Regions from separate parts of the Homo sapiens genome. Here region 1 is linked to region 2. The links are contacts of gene promoters, found by promoter capture Hi-C in blood cells and fetal thymus (Javierre and others, 2016). All regions are on one chromosome and are shown on one strand. The core of a region is centred on a gene start or on the middle of the fragment in contact, and the rest is flanking DNA. Distances in the headings are between cores, read along the strand shown. Region 1 holds the start of LOC124901224 (U4 spliceosomal RNA). Region 2 holds the start of ZFP2 (ZFP2 zinc finger protein).

What was found. The method cuts DNA at HindIII sites, captures the fragments that hold promoters and counts their contacts. A CHiCAGO score of 5 or more calls a contact.
Region 1: a fragment that was not itself captured here is called in contact with the fragment with the promoter of ZFP2 in region 2 in 2 of 17 cell types (endothelial precursors and M2 macrophages); the score reaches 8.1 in endothelial precursors.

The regions. Positions count from the first base shown.
Region 1 is chr5:179,486,785-179,493,064 of GRCh38, reverse strand. It overlaps LOC124901224 (U4 spliceosomal RNA), which reads left to right and starts at 908; the gene lies at 908-1,050. The HindIII fragment of the contact is 5,384 bases long and covers 1-4,613 here.
Region 2 is chr5:178,891,955-178,898,014 of GRCh38, reverse strand. ZFP2 (ZFP2 zinc finger protein) reads right to left here and starts at 2,102. Exons shown (of 5, transcript NM_030613.4): 1 at 2,041-2,102. RefSeq lists silencers at 1,860-1,909, 1,980-2,089 and an enhancer at 2,200-2,389. The HindIII fragment of the contact is 12,652 bases long and covers 1-6,060 here.

The DNA.
Region 1 (6,280 bases), core at 672-3,171, 600 kb before region 2:
CTAGGTTCTGGGTATAAGCCTTGTGTCCTATTCTCTGGTTCTCAGCCCCTTGTCCTAGGCTCTGGGTATAAATCTTGTGTCCTAGACCTTGGGTTAAACCCCATGTCCTAGGCTCCGGGTATAAGCCCTGTGTCCTTTCTGCATATAAGCCTTGTGTTTCCTAGGCTCTGGGTATAAGCCCCATGTCCTAGGCTTTGAGTATAAGCCCCATGTCCTAGGCTCTGGGTATAAACCTTGTGTCCTAGGCTCTGAGTATAAGCCCCACGTCCTTTCTGGGTATAAGCCTTGTGTCCTAGGCTCTGGGTATAAGCCCCATGTCCTAATCCCTGGGTATAAGCCCCGGGTTCTAGGCCCTGAATATAAGTTCTGTGTCCTTTCTGGTTATAAGCCTTGTGTCCTAGTCTCTGGGTATAAGCCCCATGTCCTAGGCCCTGGTTATAAGCCCCGAGTTCCAGGCCCTGGGTGTAAGTTCTGTGTTCTTTCTAGGTATTAGCCTTGTGTCCTAGGCCCTGGGCATAAACCTGTGTCCTAGGCCCTGGGTATATGCCCCAGGTTTTAGGCCGTGGGTATAAGCCCCAAGTCCTAGGCTCTGGATAGAAGCCCTGGGTTCTTGGTCCTGGGTATGAGCCCCATATCCTAGGTCACCAACCAGATTGAGAGCCCAGTCAAAGTTCTTTCTCATGGTGTGTCTAGGACGTCAGAAAACCTAGAGATGTGGCCGGACTCTGAGCCCCCTGAAAAGGGTTCCCAGACCTTTTGTGAGAGGGAGGCTTTGTCTGCCCAGAGCCCACCTAGTCTTGGAGTCTTGGAAGGCTGCCCGGCACCTCAGGTAGGCCTGTTTGCACCTCAGCCTCACCCTGGTCTGGGTATCCACTCCATACAGACATGTTTTTAAAAATTGAGGAATAGCTTTGTGCAGTGGCAGTATCATAGCCAATGAGGTTTATCCGAGGCGTGATTATTGCTAATTGAAAAATTGAGGAATAGTTTAGTAAAACACACAGATCTTAAATATATAATTCAATGGCTTTTTACAAATATCTATCTGTAGCCAACACCCCAATCAAGGCAGAAAACATTGCCACCATTGTAGAAAATTCCCCCCAATCCCTTTACAGTCTACTCAACTTCCCTTGTCCCCTAATCCCCAAGCAGCCACTATTCTGATTTGCATTCCAGAAAAGTAGTTTTTCTGGATTTTTTTTTAACTGACTTTCGCTCTTGTCGCCCAGGCTCGAGTGCAGTGGCGCAATCCTGACTCACTGCAACTTCCACCTCCTAGGTTCAATCAATTCTCCTGCCTCAGCCTCCCAAGTAGCTGGGATTAGAGGCGTGCACCACCACGCCTGACTAATTTTTGTATTTTTAGTAGAGACGGGGTTTCACCATGTTGACCAGGCTGGTCTTGAACTTCTGACCTCGGGTAATCCGCCCACCTCTGCCTCCCAAAGTGCTGGGATTACAGGTGTGAGCCACCGTGCCCAGCCTGGTTTTGAATTTAATAAATCTGTATGACATCCTTTGTATGGCTCCTTCAGTTCAAAACACTGTGTTTTTGTTGTTGTTGTTGTAGAGATGGAGTCTTGATCCATTGCCCAGCCTGCTTTCAAACTCCTGGGCTCAAGCAATCCTCTGCTCTTGGCCTCCCAAGTGTTGGGACTGCAGGTGTGAGTCATCGCACCAGCCAGAGTCCAATCGTGTCTCTAGTGAGAGCAGCCACTTTAATATAAAGGCTCAGGAATTCCTCCTCATGTTTGCTGCAGTGGCACTTGCCCTCTGAGTATCAGTTAGCTATTGTCACACTTATGCTGTGTAACAAACCATCCCCACATCTCAGTGGCAAACAGTAATAATCATTTATTTCTTACTCATGAGTTTGTGGGTTGGCTGGGCAGCTCTGCTCCACATGCCTCTCATCCTCTTCCTGGGACCAGCAGGGGCAGTTTCGTCTCTGGCTGATGGCAGGGCCCTGAGAGACGGCACATCTAACCCCACAAACACATTTCCAGTTTTGCTGTGTCATGCCTGCTGGCATCCCTTTGGCCAAGCCCAAAGTCAAGGGGTGGGAAAGGGAGGCTATGGCGAGGGTGTGAGTGTGGGTGAAAAACTGGGGCGGGTCATTCAATCTATGTTACCAGTTTCCTGACAATGTAAGTTAAGAGAAAGAGCTTTGTGGCTGACGCCTGTAATTCCAGCACTTTGGGAGGCCGAGGTGGGCAGATCACAAGGTCAGGAGATGGAGACCATCCTGGCTAACACGGTGAAGCCCTGTCTCTACTAAAAATACAAAAAATTAGCCAGGCGTGGTGGCGGGCACCTGTAGACCCAGCTACTCGGGAGGCTGAGGCAGGAGAATGGCGTGAACCCGGGAGGCGGAGCTTGCAGTGAGCTGAGATCATGCCACTACACTCCAGCCTGGGCGACAGAGCGAGATTCTGTCTCAAAAAAAAAAAAAAAAGGTAAAACTGGTTTGGTTTGCTAGTCCAATTATTTAGTGAATCAGTCCAGTTTATTAGAAATCCCAATGAGGTTGTTTTCAGAAGTGAGACAGGTCTGACCGGATCATTTGCAGAAAGCTCTGTTCTTGCTTTGGGACAGTCCTGCCCGCACTGGGAATGTGAATTTAATCGCCGTTCTCTCGCCGCTGCTCCTGCCCGCCTGGGACCAATTCCCTACCACACTGAGCTCATTGGAGACTTTAGTTTCATATTTTTAAGACCAGTTTAGTGCATCATCTCTGTCTTTATTTCTCCCTCCAGCACTTACTGTAGTTGATCTCTTTTATTTTCTTAGATTCTTTGGGGGGAGTTTATAGGTGGGATGAACCCATATATGCATGAAAATGTCTTTATTTTGCACCCCCAATTTAAGGCTAGATTGGCTGGGTCTTGGATCCTAGATTACGAATAGTTTTTTCTTTGGAATGTTAGAGAAATTGCTCTACTATCTTTTAGGATTCGGGATTGATGATAAGTCTTGATGTCAAGCTGACTTTCATTCTATTGTGACAACCTATTCTCTCGGTCAGAAAACTATGAGGATTTTCCTTTTTTCCTTGGTATTCCAAAATTTTGCTGCAATGTGCCTAGATTTCTAAAATTCCACTTTACTTTTTTTTTTTTTTTGAGATGGAGTCTTGCTTTGTCATCCAAGCTAGAGTGCAGTGGGGTGATCTCAGATCACTGCAACCTCCGCCTCCTGGCTTCAAGTGATTCTCCTGCCTCAGCCTCCCAAGTAGCTGGGATTACAGGTGCGCCACCATGCCAGGCTAATTCTTGTATTTTTAGTAGATAAGGGGTTTTGCCATGTTGGCCAGGCTGGTCTTGAACTCCTAGCCTCAAGTGACTGTCTCAGCCTCCCGCTTTATTTAATTAATTTATTTTGAGACGGAGTCTCTCTCTGTTGCCCAGGCTGGAGTGCAGTGGTGCAATCTCGGCTCACTGCAAGCTCTGCCTCCTGGGTTCACGCCATTCTCTTGCCTCAGCCTCCCGAGTAGCTGGGGCTACAGGCACCCGCCACCATGCCCGGCTAATTTTTTTTGTATTGTTTTAGTAAACACAGGGTTTCACTGTGTTAGCCAGGATGATCTTGATCTCCTGACCTCATGATCCACCCACCTCGGCCTCCCAAAGTGCTGGGATTACAGGCGTGAGCCACCACACCTGGCCATGAGTTCCCTGTCCTTCTCAGGGACAGGGAGTCAGTGATTCCTGGGGAGACTGTCTTTCTTCTCTGGACCAAGTATTCGCACTTTCTATATCAACTGGGGGCAAATGCTGTGCGATGCTGGTGACCTTGCTGATTTATTCCCAGAACATGATGCATTTCCTTCCCCTTTCTTTCCCTTTTGTGCTACTTCTAATTAAGGAAGATATTTCTGTCATTTATGGGATTTTGGTTCGGAGGGAGGTCAATCAGGGGTGCTTGTTCCTCCATCTGGCCCTGATCTGCGTTTTTAGCAAAACAACTGAGTTTGGAAGTTTGAAACTAATGACATTAGGGCTGGGAAATTTCTTAATGTAAATATATTTTAGCAGAGTTAATGAAAACTTGGAGTGCTTACAAAGTTGGATATCTTACATGTGTGACAAATTATATATAAACCAGATTTCATTTCCTGTTTTTTTTTTTATTTTTTCTTCTTTTTAATCAGCAAAGGAAAAATGGCAAGAAAACCAAGTCTCTTATCTTATAACTACACATTTTAGGGGAGAATGCATATTGAAACATTTTCAACATTTGCTGTTAAAATGAATACAATTTTACAAAAAGAACCCCCCCCCACACACACAAAGCATAAAGTTCTAGGCGATGATGAGCCCCTCATTCAGAAATGGTCCAGGCTTTGCCTCCGGGAGCCCGTTGGCCCCAGCCTGCTGCTGTTGGCAACCGCAGTGCCGTTTCCCTCACACATCTCTCATCACTATGGTGATTCTTGTTAAATAAAGTGAGCAGTCCCGATCATGTGCACTAGTGCCTTCTTCTGCGTTTAATCTGTGGCTGTCAGTTTCCACAACCCATCTATTCAATAAAGATTTGTTGATTATCTACTATGTGCTTGGGCCCAGTGACGCAAAGATGAATAGGACAAGATGCTTGCCCTTGAGGAAGCTTCATGTAGGGGAGAAGAGGCAGAACAGTTAGATTCCATGGATCCTCTGGCATTTGGAGTCCAACTTTACATGTTTTTGTGAAGTGACTGAATTTAACAATGTCTTATGCTTGTATAATTTTTCAAAAAATATGTTTAACTTTCAAATGGGAGATGCATGACATAGTTCAAACCATCAAAATGATATGAAAAGATATCCCCACCTGCTCATTCTCCTTCCCCCACCTCCCCCTCTAGGCAACCTTTTTCTTTGAGACAGTCTTGCTCTGTTGCCCAGGTTGGAGTGCAGTGGAGCGATCTTGGCTCACTGCAAGCTCCGCCTCCCGGGTTCACGCCATTCTCCTGCCTCAGCCTCCCGAGTAGCTGGGACTACAGGCACCCCCCACCACGCCCAGCTAATTTTTTGTATTTTTAGTAGAGACGGGGTTTCACCATGTTAGCCAAGATGGTCTCAATCTCCTGACCTTGTGATCCGCTCATCTCGGCCTCCCAAAGTGCTGGGATTACAGGCGTGAGCCACCACACCTGGCCATATATATATATATATGGAGTGTCGCTCTGTCACCCAGGCTGAAGTGCAATGGTGTGATCTTGGCTCACTGCAACCTCTGCCTCCCGGTTTAAGCAATTCTTCTGCCTCAGCCTCCTGAGTAGGTGGGATTACAGGCATGCGCCACCACGCCTGGCTAATTTTTGTATTTTTAGTAGAGACGGGGTTTCACCATGTTGGCCAGGCTGGTCTTGAACTCCTGACCTCAGGTGATCTGGCCGCCTTGGCCTCCCAAAGTGCTGGGATTACAGGCGTGAGCCACCGCGCCCGGCCGAGTCAGAATATTTCTAACCCTTTCTTATTTCCCAGTACCAACAAATATTTGCACCCTTTTTTTCAAAGTACTGTATTTGTTTTTGGGTACTATTAAAGTTTCTATTCGCAAAAGGAAAGCCACCCGTCAGTGGACAATGTGGTACACTTGCTGTGTGGTGTTCAGATGAGAACGCACTGAGGGAACTAAGTGTCGCAGGGGTGATGTGGAGGGCAGGCTGGCTGGGGTCCACATTCAAGCTGTCGAGCACCCGGAGGGAAGATCAGGGCCAGACTGTGAAGAACGTGAGCTGCCATGCACTCAGAGCTCTGGGTTTTTCCTGCAAGCAATGGGCAGCCACAGAGGGTTTCACAAAGGAGGAAGGAGGAGGCCAGAACTCCGTTAAGGCAGATGTGAATTCCAGTGGCTGTGAAGGATGGGGAAGAGACTGCAGTGATTCTGTAACTTTTAATTGCTCCATTTACCTGCTATGGTAGCACATGAATGCTACCACTCCTTACATGACATGGAGGGGCCTGGGGAGAAACCCTGGGGACGAGGAATCTCTCTACAATGCTTTCCGACTGCAAAGGTTGAGGGCCACTTTCCCACTGGCTTCCTCAAGAGCGGTCCTTGTCATCGCCATGCAGTGCATGTTGATTCAAACACTATGTGAGTCACTTCAGGCTCACAGAGCAGCTGGTGCCTCAGAACCAGGGCTCCGTATCCTCGAATCGAAGCGTGAGATTGTTTATCCCTTTCAAGGGAGCAAACCATTAGTGGGGCAATACCTTGTTCCAGACACGGTGAAGAGGGGGCGGCAGGGCTGAGAAGAGAAGCCCAGCTTCCCGAGGCTCTGCTCAGC
Region 2 (6,060 bases), core at 853-3,352:
CGTCTCAATAAAAAAAAAGAAGTTCACTAATTATGGAAAAAATATTTAAGTTGTGTGTTACAACAACTAAGACTTTTTTAAAAAAGAATACTGATGAGAGACAACTTGCCCACCAGTATTCATAAAGCTACAAGAATTGGAACACAATATTACTGACTTATTTACCAGATACATTGTTGACCACCTACTGTATACTAGGCACCATTGCATGGGGTAGGGGTGGATACAGCTGTAAATAAAACAGATAAACTCTCCGCAATCATGGATGTTATAGCCGAACAGGGAAAAGCATCAATGGAACAAATTAAAATTCTACCAACCTAAATGGTTCAAATACACATGTATTTATGTATGTGTGTGTATATATATATTTCATTCAAGATATGAAATAAGTGACATTTCATATCAACGAAGAAAAAATTACTAAGTAACTTGTAACAAAGGCTTACCATTTGGAAAAAAATAAAAATGTACACAAAAAATGAAAGTACTAAGAGAAACTACAAACATTTTTGTAATCTCGTGGGACAGACAGCTTCTCTGCCAGTGATGTCAAACACCCAAACGTGAAGAAAAGGTTTTCATGTGTGACCATAAGAACCTGTGACGTTTCTGCACAGTCAGGAAACATGCTTATGTATCAGATACAAAATTAAAATACAAAATGCAAACTGCGTGAAAATATTCATTAGTGTTCAAAATGCAAATGTAAACAATCCTATCTTTTGCACCTCTCAGAAGTTCAAGAGAATACTAACATTCACAGTTGGTGTGGGTAAATCTGGCACTCTTACACTGCAAGTGTTTATATAAACTGCAACTTTTCTGGAGGGAATAAGACAGGAGGTATCAAAATCCTTACTGTACCCTGGACCTAGAAATTTCACTTTAAGAGATTTATAGAATAAGACAAAATGCAAAGATGTATGTAGCCAGATGGCCTATACTGTTTATAATACTGAAAAAAAAAAAGAAAAAAGAAAACCCTAACACAAAAACCTAAGGAGAGGATTCAATACGACACATCCATACTTTCCCTCACACTCATTAAAATGACGTAGCTCTATTTAAAATCTGGTATAAGTAGATGGTGTCAACATATTCCAATGTTTTTTTCAGATGTATTCTCTATCTTCATTGGGTGTTTAGGCCAGTAAAAAATTACAAGGCTTAAGATTTGTGCACTTCAAACCCCTTACCAAATGCATCTCATGACTCAGTTTTAAAAGATAGATGGAGAAAAAGCTGCTAATATTCATATTTCTGTTTAAAAACAAAGTACAAAGTGTTTCTATGCTTATACACATATCCACGCTGCCATGCAGATGGAGATAGATTTTGAATGATTGTTTTAATCTCAATTTTCCAGTTGTGCTACAGTGAAATCGCTTAAGGAAAAAAAGAAAAGATTCCCCGAGGTCGAAACCTGCACCAGGTTGGCCTCCCCATTCTTATTGTGAGATGGGAGGGGAGCCCACGCCAGCGCTCTCGGAATGAGATCCAGAGGGCGGGTCCGGAGACCCGGTTTACACAAAGGGCAGATGCTGCACAGGGAGACCCAGCCTCTGGCCCAGAATCCCCGGGATGTCCGCGGGTTAGGTTCGCTCCACGGTCGCAGCGTGTCCCGGGACAAAGCTGCGCGCGGCTGGGGAAAGCCAGGGAGGAACCCGGGTCCGAGCGACTCTTGGAACCTTGGGCCCCTCCCTGACCCGTGGTGGCCGGCGTGGCCCTTGTTCGAGCCCCCATCCCCGCTGCTCCGGGGCTGTGATTCCACCTCGGCGCCTGCCCAGGACAGCGCCGAAGGACACTCAGCTGCCAGCGTGCTCCCGCCGCCAGCTCCTGGGGAAGAGGGAGCGCACCTGGAGCCGGAGGCCCGGCGCTCCACAGGCGCAGTGAGGCCGCACCCCCGGCCCATCTGCTGCGGGCCCGCCCCTCAACCCTCAGGAAGCTGGGGCCTCGCCCCGCAATCCGGAGCTCCTCCTGCGGGGGCCTACAAGACTCACGGATGGCGCGCGCCCCCGCCACCGGCCCCGCACTCACCCTCTCCCAGCAGGAGCGGGAGCAGCGGCGACCGACACAGCCGCGACCGGCGCTTACAGCCCGGAGCGCCAGACTACATTTCCCACAAGGCTGCGGGGCTGCAGTGCGGCCAGGCCGTCGGCGTGTGCGAGAACGGGGCCCCAGAGGGCAAGGCTGTGCCAGTGGCCAGCTGAGGTGGCCCACGGTGTGGCCTCTGCAGGTCATCGGTGTGTCCAGGCGGGACGCGGGGTTCCCAGGCGGCCCCTTACCCCGGCTAAAGTCGTCTCTCTGGCCAGGCCTGCAATCTCAGCACTTTGGGAGGCGGGTGGGTGAATCACCTGAGGTCAGGAATTCAAGACCAGCCTGGCTAACATGGTGAAACCCTGTCTCTACTAAAAATACAAAAAAAATTAGCCAGGCGTGGTGGCGGGCACCTGTAGTCCCAGCTACTCGGGAGGCTGAGACAAGAAAATCACTTGAACCTGAGAGGCAGAGGTTGCAGTGAGCCGATATTGCGCCACCTCACTCCAGCCTGGGTGACAAGAGCAAGAGAGTGTCTTAAAAAAAAAAAAAAGGCATTAATTTACCAGCAAATAAAATATTTTAAACTTTTATGTATTTAATAACATAAGATACAAAATACATAAAGCAAACATGGGCAGAACCCATTTTTAATTTTGTTTTCTTTCTTTTTTGTACAGATGGGATCTTACTCTGTTGCCCAAGCTGGTCTCAAACTTCTGGGCTCAAGCAACGCTCCTGCCTTGGCCTCCCAAAATGCTGGGATTATAGGCGTCAGCCACCACCCTGGCCTCAGAGTTTTTAACCTACCTTCTCAGTAACTAATAGAAAAGCTGACAAAAAGGTCACTATAGATATGAAATATTTGAAAAGCAAAATTAGTTTTATGTTAATGAATAGACATGTAGACTACTCCACCCCAAAACTGAAGAAAACACATGGAAAAGCATATATTTACTTAAGAAATGATCTCATACTAGTCTGTAAAGTAGCCTCAACACATTTCAAGCAATTGGTATCACACAAGACCATATTCTTTGACAATGTAATTAAGCTAAACATTTTTTAAAAGACTAGAAACTTTTTAGAAAAGATTTAGGTAAAGGGAATATTTAGAGGAAATTTTGCAGCCTTCAAAGCATACAGTAAAGAAGAAAAGAAGGCAGATTGGGTACAACACATCTAATTTTGTTCCCTCCTAACACGTACTGATATAGTTCAGGACACACACACTCACTGCCAAAATATGGCACCTCATCATTTGAGAAAACAGCAGAAACAGGAAGGACTTTTCCACACATCTCCCACGAAGCAGGTTGTAAAACCTAGGAAGAATTTCCTAACGTCCCCTGAAGCAGGTCGTAAGATTCTCATGTGAGATTTGCACTCCCTATACCTGGAGGAAAGTAACATCTTTATTGCTGAAGACACACAGTCACAGAGAAAACTCTTGAACAAACAGGCCTTGCTAAGTTGCCCCCAGTGTATTACTATTAGATCATATCCTCTTTGTCCATTTATATTTCTCTGTGACTTCATCAAATTTAGCATAAAAATACACAACTTTAACTGTTTCTTTGGGACTTCATTTCCTTATGTAGGCTGCTGTGTCATGTAAAACTTGTATTAAAGAAACTTGTATGTTTTGCTCTTGTTAATTTGTCTTTTGTCTTAGGGGTCTCAGCCACCAACATAGGACGCGCAAGAAAAATGTATTTTGCCTCCTCTGTACCACTAAAAGCAAATGTAACAGATTGTTTGAAAACTTGTTAATTCACAAGGTCAGGAAAAACAAGTAAGGACACACCAGCAACATTTTAAATCTTGGAAACGGATGTTATTTTCTTGGCAAACCTGAAATAATGCCAAATCCCAGAGAGCTGTAAGAAAGGTAAAGGCCAGGCTGGGTACAGTGGCTCATGCCTGTAATCCCAGCACCCTGGGAGGCCGAAGTCAGGGGATCACTCAAGACCGCAAGTTCCAGGACAGCCTGGGCAACATGGCGAGATGCTGTCTTTACAAAAAATAAAGGTAGGAAGGAATGGAGTCTCTCTACTGTTTTGTGCAAATGTAGTCGGGTTTATGATCAGAACTGCTGTTATGTACAATGCTGCTAACCTCCAAGCCTTGGAGGGAAAAGGTTAAGGATGAACTTTCTGTTCTTGGGCACACAACCAAAAGGCCTGGACAATGAGAAACTTTTTCTGGACTGGTTCCACTAATGCTTTTGTCCGTGAAATCACGAAGTACCTTGCCAGTAAGGGACTGCCCTTGAATGTTCTTTTGATATTGGACAATGACCCTGGTCACCCAGAACCCATGAGTTCAATGTCAAAGGCACTGAAGTGGTCTACTGTATTAATATCAGATAATGTGGACTTTGTAGACAAAGAAAATTGAGACAGGAAAATTACATAATGATAAAAGGGCTAATCTACCAAAAAGTTATAGCAGTCAGTTTTTAATTTTTTAAAATGTTTCGTAGAGACAGGATCTACCTATGTTGCCCAGACTGGTATCGAACTCCTGGCCTCAAGTGATCCTCCCACCTCAGCCTCCAAAAGTGCTGAGATTACAGGCACATGCCACCATGCCCAGCTTTGTTGCTGTTGTTGTTGTTGTTTTTTGAGACAGTCTGTCGCTTTGTTGTCCAGGCTGGATGCAATCTCGGCTCACTGCAACCTCCGCCTCCCAAGTTCAAGCGATTCTACCTCACCTGAGTAGCTGGGATTACAGGCACTAGCCACTGTGCTCGGATAATTTTTGTATTTTTAGTAGAGACAGGGTTTCACCATGTTGGTCAGGCTGGTCTCGAACTCCTGACCTCAAGTGATCCACTTGCCTCAGCCTCCTAAAGTGTTGGGATTACAGGCGTGAGCCACTGCGCCCGGCCTAGCTTTGTTTTTTTCTTTCAAATTCTACAGCAGGCTTAAAAATGGTTTATGTTCAAACATTACAATACTAAGGGATTCTGTATCTATGTATTTTTTACCAGAGTCTTTATATTTTCATAGTTTCATGTTGTTATTACCTTTCAATTTAAAGAATTCCCTTTAGCATCTTTTTGAGACAGGAGTCTGTCACCCAGGCTACAGTGCGGTGGTGTGATCTTAGCTCACTGCAACCTCCACTTCCCAGGTTCAAGGGATTGTGCCTCAGCCTCCCACCTAGCTGGGACTACAGACGCCCACCACTACACGTGGATAATTCACATAATTTTAGTAGAGATGGGGTTTCACCATGTTGGCCAGGCTGGTCTCAAACTGCTGACCTCAAGTGATCCCCCCGCCTCAGCCTTCTGAAGTGCTGGGATTATAAGCATGAGCCACCTTACCCGGCCAGATCTCCATTTCTTTAGGGTTGGTTTCTGGAGGTTAGTTTCTTTTTATTGGGATGTGTTTCACTCTTTCTTTACAGCCTTGTGATCTTTTGTTGAGACTTGACCACTTGAAAAAAACAGTCCCCTCCAGCAGTCTCTAAGGATTGGCTTTGTGTAAAAGAAGACCGTCATCATTTAGCACAACTAGAGATTCTGGGATTGTCTCAAACTTTTTCTGGGGATGCTACTTCTCTGGGCTTGTGCACAGAATGAGGTTTTTGCCTGCTTCTTCTTTAGAGATTGTAACCTCTTGTTCCCCTTGCTGTCTGCAGTATTACAGTCTCTCTGGTGATGTAACAAGCTCCAGTGCTCACCTTTGTTCTCAGCAGCCCCCAATCTAGCATCCAAACTACTAATTCCAGTCAGTACTCTGAGTCTCATGAGACAAACCATGCCCTTGGAAAGCACCATGAAAAGCTAAAACACTGGATGCACAGCCCACTCTTCTTCCCTCCTGAGGGAAAAACTGGCAGCTGAGTGTTTTTTTCCTGATCACACCTTGCCACGCTAGGCAGTGGGAGTGGCTAGGGTGGGTAAAATGTCAAAAATTTTCTACCATTTTGATGTGTCTCTGTCCTTGCACTCACCTGGCGTGCTACAACTTCTTAGTGTCTAGAATTCTCACAAAAGCAATTTGTAGT